Linked DNA regions of Homo sapiens: region 1 is linked to region 2. The links are contacts of gene promoters, found by promoter capture Hi-C in human tissues and cell types (Jung and others, 2019). All regions are on one chromosome and are shown on one strand. Each heading gives the region's core, a stretch centred on a gene start or on the middle of the fragment in contact. The rest is flanking DNA. Distances are from core to core; before and after follow the strand shown. Region 1 overlaps ACAA2 (acetyl-CoA acyltransferase 2). Region 2 holds the start of MYO5B (myosin VB).

Evidence for each region. The method cuts DNA at HindIII sites, captures the fragments that hold promoters and counts their contacts. A contact is called where the count stands out against the background at its distance.
Region 1: a fragment that was not itself captured here is called in contact with the fragment with the promoter of MYO5B in region 2 in 1 of the 25 tissues and cell types used here (bladder).

The regions. Positions count from the first base shown.
Region 1 is chr18:49,802,390-49,809,773 of GRCh38, forward strand. ACAA2 (acetyl-CoA acyltransferase 2) reads right to left here. Exons shown (of 10, transcript NM_006111.3): 2 at 298-464. Among named protein-coding and RNA genes, the nearest start is that of ACAA2, 7.5 kb to the right of the region's middle. The HindIII fragment of the contact is 8,087 bases long and covers 1,774-7,384 here.
Region 2 is chr18:50,190,489-50,197,143 of GRCh38, forward strand. It overlaps MYO5B (myosin VB), which reads right to left and starts at 4,659. Exons shown (of 40, transcript NM_001080467.3): 1 at 4,279-4,659. The coding sequence starts at 4,305. RefSeq lists silencers at 4,334-4,573, 4,634-4,873. The HindIII fragment of the contact is 5,061 bases long and covers 2,322-6,655 here.

The DNA of each region.
Region 1 (7,384 bases), core at 4,567-7,066, 390 kb before region 2:
TGTCTCTATTAAAAACACAAAAATTAGCTGGGCTTGGTGGCACACGCCTGTAATCCCAGCTACTCGGGAGGCTGAGGCAGGAGAATTGCTTGAACCCGGGAGGCGGAAGTTGCAGCGAGCCAAGATCGCACCACCATACTCCAGCCTGGCGGCAGAGCGAGACTCCATCTCAAAAAAAAAAAAAAAAAGTCTATAACTATTATTAACTTGTTTACCATTATGATATGTTAAAGGAATTATTTTTAGAAACTGATCAAAGAAGCAATAGGAGTGAACACCTTCCTTTACTCTACTAACCTGCAGGACATTGCCCATAATCACACTGTCAACTGTTTCAGGTGAGACTTTGCCAGCAGACAAGGCAGCCTTGGCAGCAAATTCAGACAAGTCAGTAGCAGTGAAGTCTTTCAGAAGGCCTCCGTAAGCTCCAAAGGGCGTTCGCTTAGCAGCAACTACAAACACACCTATTGCAACAAGAAGAGATTTGTAAGCCATCACAGGTTAGTAAATACCTCTAAATGCTTCGAATAATCTCACTGTGAAACCTTACACAATTTAAAATTAGATAATGGAAATTTCTGTTAGGCAATAATACCTAGAACAAGTCATACCCATGGAAGCAGAGTCTTAAGGACTACCAGTTTGACAGTTTGATCTTTACCTACATGCAGGTACCAAGAACTGCACTGCATGCTGTTAAGGAAGAAGACCACCACTTCTCCTGCGCACCCCGCCCCCCTTGCCTAGTTTATAAAACAGGAGGAAAAGAAAAAAGCAAAAAGTTAAAAAGAAACAGAAGTAAGATAAATAGCCAGATGGCCTGGTGCCACCACCCGGCCCTGGTAGTTAAAATAATAATAATAATAATAATAATAATAATAATAATAATAATATCAATCCCTGACCTAAACTACTTGTGTTATCTGTAATTTCCAGACATTGTATGAAAAAGCATTGCAAAACTTTCTGCTCTGTAAGCTAATGCATGTAGCCCCCAGTCACGTTCCCCACACTTGCTTGATCTATCACCATCCTTTCAGGTGGACCCCTTAGAGTTGTAAGCCCTTAAAAGGGCCAAGAATTTCTTTTTGAGGGAGCTCGGCTCTTAAGACGCAAGTTGGTGGATGCTCCAAGCCAAATAAAGCCTCTTCCTTCTTTAATCCAGTGTCTGAGGAGTTTTGACTGTGGCTCGTCCTGCTACACTGTGATGTAAAGCCATTCTGGTTAGACAACTTTCTTGTTCTCTGATGCTTCACAATGCTAGAAACATATGTTGAGAACTAAAATCCTTCTTCTATGTGCTGGAGTATATTGCCTAGTATTAGAATAAAAGAATCTCCAAACTAGAAGGTGCCTTAGGGTTGTCTGAGGTCAACCACTCACTCTATAAGAACTACCTCTAAAAATTCCTGACAAAAGGTTCTCTCTAAACCTCTGCCAGGAAACTTTCAGTAAGAGGGCATACTCTACTGCATGAAACAGTGTGCTGGTCATGGACAACATAAACTAATGATATTGCTTTTTTTTTTTTTTTTTTGGAGACAGAGTTTTGCTCTTGTCGCCCAGGCTGGAGCGCAGTGGCGCGATTTCGGCTCACTGCAACCTCCGCCTCCCGGGTTCAAGTGATTCTCCTGCCTCAGCCTCCCGAGTAGCTGGGACTACAGACACCCACCACCAGGCCCGGCTAATTTTTGTATTTTTAGTAGAGACGGGGTTTCACCATGTTGGCCAGGCTGGTCTTGAACTCCTGACCTCAGGGGATCCACCCACCTCAGCCTCCCAAAGTGCTAGAATTACAGGCGTGAGTCACCCACTCCCGGCCCCAACGAATGATATTTCTTTATATTGAACTAACTCAGCTTACAAAGTCTTCCATCCACCAATTCTAGTTCTCTCCAAAAGCACCAACACAGATAGAGATGTAGTTTCTAGAATATATGCTGCTACCGGTTCTAGAGTCACAGGATGACTCAAGTTACAGACTTCAAATAAATAACCTGAACTATTATCTTTTACTCTTAGAAAAAAAATGGGCAAAACAGGTTACCTTCTACATGTGTATCCCCCACCTCCAGTATCTGAAGTCAGCTAACCTGTAAGTCCCCAAACCTAGTGACTCTCATCTCAGGTAAATTAAAGGCATTCTTTCAATAGTTTTTTATTTGACATTAATTCTGACTGCTTTCCTCTAAAGACACTGTAGTTTGCCAACATCCTATTAAAATGTGTCCCTTAGAATATAAGAATATAACAAAAATAGCATGCATTTTATCTAATCACAAAGAATAGAGGAATTATCTATACATCTACTAATACAAACTAAGACTATAAATTTGCAGCATCACTATTAGTTAAATCGGTGTCCTTGTACAAATAAATAAAAATCACCCCTTCCCAATCACCTACTACCATCTGCCAAAAAAAAACTTGTGACTATACAAATATATGATTATGATGTGAGTGGTACCCACTCATCATCATTAGAGCTGTACAGTGCAAAACCGGCATATCAGTAAGCAGCATCAGTTATAGCCATTTCATCATATTGACATTCATTAGGTGTCTACTAAATACTAGACATTTTATCACTTTCCACACAAAAGCTAATCTTCCCAGCAACTCTGCAAGGTAAATATTATAGCTAACATAGAGGGGACACTTACTATGGAATAGACTTCATGCTAGCACTTTGCATATACTAACTTTATTCTCTCCAAGACAATCTAAGCTCACATTTCCACATCTTGTCAAGAAATTATGGGACTTTCGGCAATGGGTTTGTGATAAGATACTGATCTACAAATGAGACTATTCAAGCATTATACCACTACTGGTATCTAAGTATAATCTTCCAGTTTATGATCTCTTTCATCAAACAAACCAAGCCTAGCCTAAAATATTTCTATTTCAACCTCTCTTTTCATTCCTATTTTGAGAAATTTGCAGTTTAAAGGAATATTAGGAGCAATATATATAACTATAATTTAGAACAGATCCACTCAGTTTTTTACAGATACAAATTCAGATAGTTACAAAAGGCCATAAATACTAGTCGAGTGCATTACAAACGTTTTGTTCTGGTAAATTGGTTATTCTGTACCATGATGCCTTCCTGAATCTTTTCAAGTTTCCTTTCATCCTCCTTCCTTAACAGTCTCTGCCTATTTTTATATCAGTGTTTTCTTTTTTTTTTGAGACAGTCTTGCTCTGTGCCCAGGCTAGAGTGCAGTGATGTGATCACAGCTCCCTGCAGCCTCGACCTCTGCAGCCTCGACTTTCCCAACTCAAGTGATCCCCCTGCCTCAGCCTCCCAAGTAGGTAGGACTACAGGCATGTGCCACCACACCTGGCTAATTTTTACCTTTTTTTCTTTTTTTTTTTTGTAGAGATGGGGTCTTGCTATGTTTCCCAGGCTGGTCTCGAACTCCTGGGCTCAAGCAATCCTCCCACCTTGGCCTCCCAAACTGCTAGGATTATAGGCATGAGCTACTGCACCTGGCCTATCAGTGGTTGCTTTATTTCATTCTTCTTTCCTCTTTCCATGCCTTCTTCCTAATTTCATTAGTTCTGCTTCTGGTCATGGCCTACTATGCTCCTATCTGACCAACCCTCCAACAGATAACAATGAAAAACTCCAGACAATATATAAGAACAACTACTACCTGACGGTCTTGGAAATGAACAAAACTAGACAGGTAAGGAGAAGAGTTGATACTTAGAGGAAGGGAACAGAACAGGGTAAGTGTCCAATTTATTTATAGCAACTAACTTGAAGACTAACAGTCCATGATGCATGGAATGGCTAGAACTCAGAAACAGTCTTACTGGCTTGAAGAATCAGAGAATAAAATTCATGGTAAGCACAGCCACTAGAAAGTGAATGAGAATCTGGGAAAGAGGAGCACCATAGAGCGAGATTCCAAATTTCACATATAAACTCTGCCCAAATATTTGGCTGACTCCTTAGCCATTCATGTGTAGGTCAGACCACAAGCACCTAAGCCAAGCCTTAAAAAACTGAACTTAGATTTAAGCTGCTGCCCACTACAAGGGGAGACATAGTTTATCACGGGGGTGCATGGGGGTGATTTTGTAGGCAAAGTAACTGTCTACAAAAAATAAATAGCCAACCAATCAATAAGTCAGTTCTGTCTGCAGGATTATAACAGAATCCAGTCTCCACAATGTTCCATCTGCAATATTCATAATATAATTCAAAGTTAATCCACATATGAGGAAACAAAAAATATGACAATCAACAGAGACCAATCCCAAGAAGACCCAGACACTGAAATTAGCAGACAAGGATTTTAAAATAGCATTCTATTACAACTATGCTCAAGGATGTAGAGGAAAATATGCTCCTAATAAAACATAGGACATCTCAGTAAAGAAATACATACTATAAAAATCCAAAATGGAAATTCCAAAACTGGAAAATACCTGAAATAAAAAATTCCCTGGATGGGCTTAACAGCAAAATAGAAATGAAAGGAGAAAAATTCAGCGACTTTGAAGATAGATAAATAGAAATTAACCAATCTGAAGAACAGATGAAAAAAAAAAGATTAAAAAACAAAGCCAGAACCTCAAGGTCTGACAAAGGAGGAAAGGCAATTCACTGGAAAAAGGATCGTCTTTCCAACAAACAGTGCTGGAACAACAAAACATCTATATACCAAACAAAATGAATCCAGGCAAAAATGCGTCAACTTTGATAGTGGGCTGGGCACTGTGGCTCAAGCCTATAATCTCAGCTACTCAAGAGGCTGAGGTGGGAGGACTGTGTCAGGATAGGAGTTTGAAACCAGCCTAGGCAACATAGCGAGATCCCCATCTCTAAAAAATGTAAAAAATTAGTTGGGCATAGTGGCATGTGCCTGTAGTCCCAGCTATTCAGGAGGCTGAGTTCAAGGCTACCGTGGGCTACAATCAAGTCACTGCACTCCAGCCTGGGTGACAGAGTGAGATCTCTTATCTAAAAAAACAGAAACAAAAACAAAGAGATCATAGACTTAAATATAAAATGCAAAACTCTTAGAACATACGAGAAAAATCTACATGGCTTTGGGTTTGGTGATAATTTTTTAGATCTAACACCAAAAGCAGGATCCATGAAGGGAAAACTTAGGTTGGACTTCATTAAAATAGAAAACTTCTGGCTGTGTGCAGTGGCTCATGCCTATAATCCCAGCATTTTGGAAGGCCAAGGTGGGAGGACTGCTTGAGCCCAGGAGTTTGAGACCAGCCTGGGAGACATGATGGGACCCTGTCTCTATAAAAAATTAAGAAATCAGCCAAGCATGGTGGTGTGTGCTTGTGGTCCTAGCCACTTGGGAGGCTGAGGCAAGGGGACTGCTAGAGCCCAGGAGGTCAAGGCTACAGTGGCCGTGTTCACACCACTGTACTCCAGCCTGGGTGACAGAGCGGGACCCTCTAAAAACAAATGAATAAATAACCTCTGCTCTGCAAAAGATGCTGTTAAGAGAATGAAAAGACAAGCGACAGACTAGGAGAAAATATTTATAAAAACACCTAACTGATAAGGGACTGGTATCCAAAACATACAAAGTGTTCTTACAGCTCAGCAATTAAAAAAAAAAAAAAAAACCCATGCAACCCAATTTAAAAATGGGCAAAAGATCTGAACAGATACCTTACTAAAGAAGATATACAGATGGCAAATAAGCATATGAAAAGATGCTCAACATTGTATGTCATTAGGGAATTGCAAATTAAAACAATGAGATACTACTACACAACTATTAGTCTTTTGGATTTTAGAAAGGCTAAAATCCCAAACACTGACAACACCAAACACTGGTGAGGATGTGGAACAACAGAAATTCATTCACTGCTGGTGGGAATGCAAATGGTATGGCCAGCTTGGAAGACACTTTGGCAGTTTCTTATAAAACTAAACACACCTAACCATATGTATGATACAGCAATCAGGTTCCTTGTATTTACCTAAATGATTTGAAAACTTATGTTCAAACAAAAACCTGCAAACAAATGTTTATTCCTAATTGTTAAAACTTGAAGGCAACCACGATGTCCTATCATGGGAACCCGCCCCCCAATATTTCAGTGTAGGTTCTATTTTCCTTAAGTGTCGGCCGGTCTGAGAAACAGAAAGAGTACAAAGAGAGGAATTTTACAGCTGGGCCGCCGGGGGTGACATCACATATCGGTAGGTCCAGGATGCCCACCTGAACCACAAAACCAGCAGGTTTTTATTAAGGATTTCAAAAGGGGAGCAGGTGTACGAACAGGGAGTAGGTCACAAAGATCATATGCTTCAAAGGGCAAAAAGGAGAACAAAGATCACATGCTTCTGAGGCCAATAAAGATCACAAGGCAAAGGACAAAGCAAAGATCACAAGGCAAAGGGCAAAATCAAAAACTCCTGATAAGGGCCTATGTTCAGCTGTGCACATATTGTCTTGATAAACATCTTAAACAACAGAAAACAGTGTTCAATAGCAGAGAACTGGTCTGACCTCAAATTTACCAAGAAGCGTTTTTTCCCCACCCTAATAAGCCTGAGGGTACTGCAGGAGACCAGGGGGTATTTCAGTCCTTATCTCAACCGCATAAGACAGACACTCCCAGAGCGGCCATTTATAGACCTCCCCCCAGGAATACAATTCTTTTCCTAGGGTCTTAACATTCCTTGCTAGGAAAAGAATTTAGTGATATCTCTCCTACTTGCATATCCGTTTATAGGCTCTCTGCAAGAAGAAAAATATGGCTCCTACTGCCCGACCCCGCAGGCAGTAAAGACCTTATGGTTATCTTCCCTTGTTCCCTAAAAATCGCTGTTATTCTGTTCAAGGTGCACTGATTTCATATTGCTCAAACACACGTTTTACAATCAATTTGTACAGTTAACACAATCATCACAGTGGACCTGAGGTGACGTACATCCTCAGCTTACGAAGATAACGGGATTAAGAGATTAAAGTAAGACAGGCGTTAAGAGTATTATTAGGGAAGTGATAAATGTCCATGAAATCTTCACAATTTATGTTCCTCTGCCACAGCTCTAGCCGGTCCCTCCATTCAGGGTCCCTGACTTCCCACAACAATGTCCTTCAACAGGTGAATGGATAAACAAACTGTGGTGCAGCCATACAATGGAATATTATTCAGCAATAAAAAGAAGTGAGCTATCAAGCCATAAAAGGAAGGAATCTTAAATGCATGTCGCTAAGTGAAAGAAGCCAGTCTGGAAAGGCCATATACTGTATGATTCCAACTACATGATATCTGGAAAAGGCAAAGCTATGGAGACAGTAAAAAGATCAGTGCTTGCCAGGGGTTCAGAGACAGGGATAAATAAGTGAATCACAGATGATGTTTAGGGTGGTGAAATTAATCT
Region 2 (6,655 bases), core at 3,409-5,908:
TGGCACTGACTGGTGCTCTTTCTCCATCCAGAAAAACCTCACTACAAAGAAAACAATTTCTCAAAGGTGAGGTGTTGGGTCTTCTGAGAACAGGAGTGTCTCTGTTCAAAGAGAAGTGCCCTTTGGCCCCCGACCTACCAAAAAAAAATCACATAACATATAAACTGCCACTTGAAGGGAACAGATCAAGAAGAGCAAGAACACATTTAATTGGATGGAGGGAAAAAGAAACTATTTTCTTAGATAACTAGAAATACACTAATTTCTTACTGAACAGTATTTAATACAAGCTAATATATATTTAAATGTTTCATATTCCAATAATAACATCTTCTAACTATCACAAAAGCAACAGGTATAATCAAAGGGCTTTAAATTTTCCATTCCCAAAAATGTATAAATGCTGTTAGCATAATGGGTAATTATTTCCATCATACATAATACATTGATGTGTGTGTCTGGCTCCAGTGTTCATCACATTAGGAAAGCCCACTAGCAAGTTAAAAATAAAAGGGAACATTGGCTATTTTGATAATACACTAAAATGAATAATCTCTAAGAAACAAAGTGAATCTGAGTAGCAGGCACGACTTCCCTGTGTAACTTATGATTCACATGCATACTGAGAAGCCAGCTTGGCAAGTGGGGAGACCATGGTTAGGCAACTACACAACTGCTTCTCATAGTAAAGCACAAGTGTGTTAATTGCCAGGAAGAATAACAACTGCTCAAAACATAAATCTAGAAGATACTGTCTTGGGTCCCAGAAAATCTCCTTAATTTCATAATCAAGACCCTAAATGATTAAGAACTGGAAACCCATTAACAGAGCAAGGTGCAGCCCAGCAGCCCTTAGGGAAGAACTCTAATATTTGTTTGGGATTAATTATGCCAACCCCTCACACCAATGAAGCTACTTTTTAAGTGTCTTATATCCAAGACCTTTCTCTGGTGACACCAGTTTTGTACATCTCCATAACCTGAGAAAAAGTACACTGAAACCCAAGTTCAGACTCCCACTACTTCATCATTCCTAAGAATTAACATGCAATGTATTCATTTCTAACTAAAAATCAAATTGAGTGTTTTCTCCTACAAGTATTGTCTTTAAAAGCAATCCGATATTAATTCTTGTTCTTCAAAACTAGGGCTCCGAAGATTAAGGGTTTATTCAATTGTCCATTAGCCTCATATGAGCACTATTTCAAGGTCATGGAAAATGCATATCATGGAAAAAAATTCACATGGATTTCAGAGTTTTCTGCACCAAAACAAACCCATAGTTTTATACTTGTTATAACAAGTATGAATGGGATCTAGAACAGGGTCTAGTTTGAGGCACTAAGAAAGTTAAGTCATCAGTTTGAAAAGAAGCCCCTATCAGGGCAACATGAATTCTACTAAAATTGAAGCAAGACCAAACATCAAATTTATGACGAAGTGTGGAGAGAAGAATTGTGAAATCATGACTTTATGAAAAGTTTATGGGGACAATCAGTTTTTAAGTGGATAATTCATTTGAAGAAGGGACGAAGCGATGTCAAAGATGAAGCCTGTACCAGCAGACCATCCACACCCATTTGAGAGAAAAAAAAAAAAAATGTAGCTTGTTTGTGCCCTAATTGAAGAGGGCTGACAATGGTAGAAACAATAGCCAACACCACAGACATCTCAATTGGTTCAGCTTACATGATTCTGACCGAAAACAAAGTTGAGCAAAGTTCGCACTTGATGGATACCAAAACTGCTGCACCCAGATCAACTGCAGACAACAGCAGAGCTTTCGATGGAAATTCTAAACAAGTGAGATCAAGACCCTGAAGCATTTCTTTGAATTGTAACGGGATGAAATGTGGCTCTCCCAGTACAATCCTGAAGACAAAGCCCAATCAAAGCAAAGACTGCCAAGAGGTGGAAGAGGTCCAGTCACAGCAAAGATGGACTGGTTCAGAGCAGAGATCACAGCAACATTTTGGGGGAATGCTCAAGCCATTTTGCTTGTTGTCTTTCTAGAAGGCCAAATGATGAAGACATCTGCTTATTATGAGTGTCTTTAGGAAGCCAAAGCTTTAGCAGAAAAACACCCAGGAAACTTCACCAGAAAGTCCTTTTCTGCCACAACAATGCTCCTTCTCATTCCTCTCAAAGAAGAGCAATTTTGCAAGAGTTTCTGTGGAAAACTATTAGGCGTCCACCTCACAGTCCTGATTTGGCTCCTTCTGACTTTGTGTCCTAATCTTGAACTAAATGACCTGCATCTTTTCCAGTTAATAATGTAAAAGAGACTGCATTGACATGGTTAAATTCCCAGGACCCTCAGTTCTTTAGGGACGAACTAAGTGGCTGGTATAACTTAAAAAAGTGTCTTGAACTTGATGGAAACTGTGTTGAGAAATAAAGTTTATATTTTTAATCTTTTAACTCCATTTTTCCCCCACAAACTTTCCCCCTCATATAATACAGCAATTCAATATTGCCTGACAAAGGACTTTGACACATTGTAGGTATATTCAGTTGAGTCACTCCTTTTACTTAGGAGCACAAGTTGTATCTCCATGCACTTTAATGTAACAAAGCTTCGGCTCTTTGAGCACTCCAGTTCAGATTTTTCCCCTGCCTCACTGGCTTCCAGCCTCCAGTCCCAGCTCCTGAAAACCTAACCGGCTTCAGTGAAAGAACTGAAAGCTGAGCTTTTAGGGATCCTCCCAATACCTCCACAGCTAAGAGGGGTGGGGTGCCGTTCCAGGGCCAGGACTGTCACAGAGTTCACGCCCTGGCTCCCACCTCCTCCCCTCCTCCCCCAGAGGCCGTCGCCCATCCCTGATCGCTGCACAGGTGGCCCCTGGTGGGCTCGGAAGCTGTATTTGAGGCTGCTGCGGCCCCACCCCCAGCCAGGTGACAGCCTCCGCGGCCACCTTCCTGAGCATGAACTCATCCCGGCCCTGCTCCCCTCCAGGAGGAATGGGAGAGTTGAATAATTCCTCAAACTTAGAAGGGTGGCCAGCCCACGGAGCCGAAGGGCTCCCACATGGGCTAGACAGCCGCGTGTGATCGCCAGGTAAGGACGCGGAAGTGACTGTTCCTACCCAGCCCAGACCTGTTGGCCCGGGCGGGTGTCCCGGGAATCGCATACCCACGCAACGCGCGTGGACACCACACGCACACACAACTCTGCATGGAGGCGTGTGCATAGGCACTGTTAAACGTGTTTTGGCCACCCAAGAAGACGAACAGGAAAACCAGGCATTGGACTATCCAAAACTTGTTTTCTTAAAGGTGCATAGGGCACATGTGAAGAAAAGGCCTTTGCCCCTCTCACTACTGACTCCAGGTTGAAACTCGAGGGGTCCCGGGCGGCTGCAGCGCTGCCGCGAGCTCCCCTGGAAGCGGTGGCTTGTCCCTAACTTTAACCACAGCAACTGCTGCGGAACGCGGGCGTCTCCGCCCGGGCTGCACCTGTTCCCGATTCGGAGCACCCAGCCTCACACATCCCTTCTGACCTTGAAGGCATCCTGAAACTCACACCCTGCTCCCGGTTCGACTTTACTCCAACCCCCTCCCCGCAGTCACTGAAGCCCTCTTTGTACCAAAGAGGCCGCGTCAAAACATCCATCCCCAGCAAATTCACAATGCTCTTCCCTGGGGTCTCCGGAGATAACGGCGCACCCCTCTACCCATTGCTTACCCTCACTCCATCCAGCCGCCGCGCCCTCACGCCAGGTTGTCTCCTCCCTCTCCACCAAGTCCAGAACCCCCACCTCTCCCAAGTCCAGGGTTCCCTGTTGTGGGTATGCGGGAGGAAAGGACGCCTCGGAGGCGCGCCCTCGAGAGCCGGCGCCGCAGAGCCCCTGGGGTGGGGTCCACGGCGGGGACAGGGGACAGCAGCGGGAGCACCGCGGGGGCCCGTCCCGCGCACGGCGCTCAGAGCTGGCAGGGTCGCCCTGCCGTTCGGGGAACTCGGTTGGAGCCGAGCCCAGGCAACGAAAGTGAGGGGCGCGGCGGGGAGGGGGCGACAGCCCTGGCTTGGTGCTGAGCCGTGGCGCTGCGGAACCTCTAGGAGCCGGGTGGCCGGTCAGTGCGGGCGTTCCCGGAACCGCCAAACTTTCTCCGCCAACCGAAGTTAGGGACTCCGAGGACAGTGACGAGGAGGACACCGCGGAGGGGGGTCTCCCGTCACCTCCCGCCTCCAGTAGCCGAGGGAGAAGGCGACCCTGAGTACTAGGTGGCCCCGAGCGCGCCACCCCGGCCCCGGGGCGCCTCCCTCGCGGCCGCGCTCACCTGGCTGTAGAGCTCGCCCACCGACATGGCCCGGGCCGGGCGGGGCTCGGGCCCCGGCTCCTGGCTGCCCCGCGGCTCTCAGTCCGCGGCTGGCCCGCCTGGCGCCATGTTCCCGGGCTGGCCTGGAGTTTCTCGATCTTCTCGCTCTTCTCCGACCTGCCCCGCCGGCTTCCCGCAGGCGCCGCGGCCGGCTCGCTCCCGGCGGCGCGACCTTTACTCCCGCCGCGGCGGCGCAGCTACGGCCGGACAGGAGTTGCGAGCGCCGGGGGAGGAGGCCGCGCCGCACCACTCCCCTCCCAGGTGTGGGGAGGAGGCGAGGGCCGGCGAGGAGGGAGGACCCGCTCGCGTCAGAGCGGACGGCCCGTGCGCCGCCGCGCCTCTGAGCCCTGCCGGTGCCCGGCCCGACGCGCCCTCCCGCGCCCCCGCTGCCACCTGGGCCTCCGGGCCGGGGGCGGGGCGCTCAGAGAGGAGCTCCGGGACCGGCGCGGGCCGCCCCCTGCTGGACGCCGCGCGCGCGCAGGCACAGGTGCGCCCCGGCGCCCGCACCTGCCCTGCCGCGCTCCGCTTCCACCCGCACCGGGCCCCGCGGAGTCCGGCATGAACGCGGTGCAGACAAGAAAAGGGAAGAGGAACTAACCAGAGAGGGGGGAAAAAAGAGAAGCGTCTATGGCTGGAAGGCCCCAGACATTGCCCTCGATTTTACCTGGCTGTATTCAGCGCTTTCATGATTAAAATTCAGTTACTCGTAGATCGTTATTAAGGCGACCTGGATATACATACACCAGGGATCTTCTCCTTCAAACTGAACTCTCTGCGCGGAAATCCTTGTCAGTAAAGTGGGAGTCGTAACTCCTTCTGTACAAATATTGTCCACTTTCGCCCACAGCCTCCAAGGAGACTCCAGGCCACTCATCTCAGAGGGCTTCTGCTTTTCCGGGAAGTCTCACGTTCTCCCAACCCCCGTCTCGTCTACATGCAGACTCCGGGTCCTTTTGCCACTCACTACCTCGTTTATTTGTGTTCCCTCTCTGACCATGGCACTTGGCTGCCTGCAGCAACTTCAGCTCCTCTCCTACTTCCAGTGAAAAGTAGAAATTTCAACCAAGAAAAAAAAAAAAAAACTGCCAGAAGTCTGTGGAGGGAGACGAGGGGCTGTCAGAGGAGACACTCCCTTCTGAAGCTGACATCTGTCCCTGACCCAGGGGTGGCCCCTGAAAAGTGGTTCTCAACCGGAAGATATATCTGTACCAGCCGGGGCAGTTGTTCAAGAGCCCCAGAAGGTGATTCTCAGAGGCATCCCACCTGGAACTCAAGATCCCGTTGTAATTCACCTGTGCAGGCCTTCCCATGGGCACCTCCACAATGAGAGTCACATGGGGAGCTTTAAGCGTTCCAAGGAAGAGGCCCCAACCCAAGGAATTCTGATATAATGAAGGATGGGACCTGGGTATCCCAATTTTTAAAGCTCCTCTGAAAGTCTAAAGGATGGTACTTCCAGGGTGACAAATGCATTGACCAAAGCTTGGGCGGCTCTCATTGGACCTAAAAATGGAACTCTTCACATCAGTGGCAAGAGCAGAAAGGGATTTTTTTCTCTTCCTCAAAAGTTTTTCTGCATATTTCCCTTCCCCGGATTCCTGTAGCTCTTAAAGTGTGTCCCCACCCCCCACGCCCACCATCAGCATCACCTGGTAACTGTTAGAAATACAAGTTATTGGGCTCCACTGCAGACCTACTGAACCATAAACTCTGGTGTGGGGCCAGTACTCATTGTTCTTTCTGCCTCCAGGTGATTCTCCCCTTTTTGAATAAGAAAGTCATCAGTCCTGCCTAGATCCTGGCCTCTTCCTCCACCACCATTAGTGGTCCCATCTCTCTACCAGCAACTCTTCCTCTCTCCACTGGCCCCTGGCTTTTTGTGTTTTCCTCTCCTGCTAAACTTCTTAAAGCAGTAGCTTCACTTATTTAGCTATCTCCACTTACGCCCAGTACCTCCTTAATTCTCTGATTCTCAACACTTTATGCACATCAGAATCACTTTTGAAACAAGTGGATGTCTGGTTCCCACTCCCAGAAATTCTGATTTAACTTGTCTGGGGGGTGTTGCCCTGGGTGAAAGGATTCTGAAGAGCTCCCAGATGGTTCTAATGGCAGCCAAGTTTAAGAGCTGCTGTTCTGGCCGGGTGTGGTGGCTCATGCCTATAATCCCAGCACTTCGGGAGGCCAATGTGGGCCGATCACTTGAAGTCAGGAGTTCAAGACCAGCCTGGCTAACATGGTGAAACCCCGTCTCTACTAAAAGTACAAAAATTAGCTGGGCGTGGTGGCGCATGCCTGTAATCCTAGCTACTTGGAAGGCTGAGGCAGGAGAATCGCT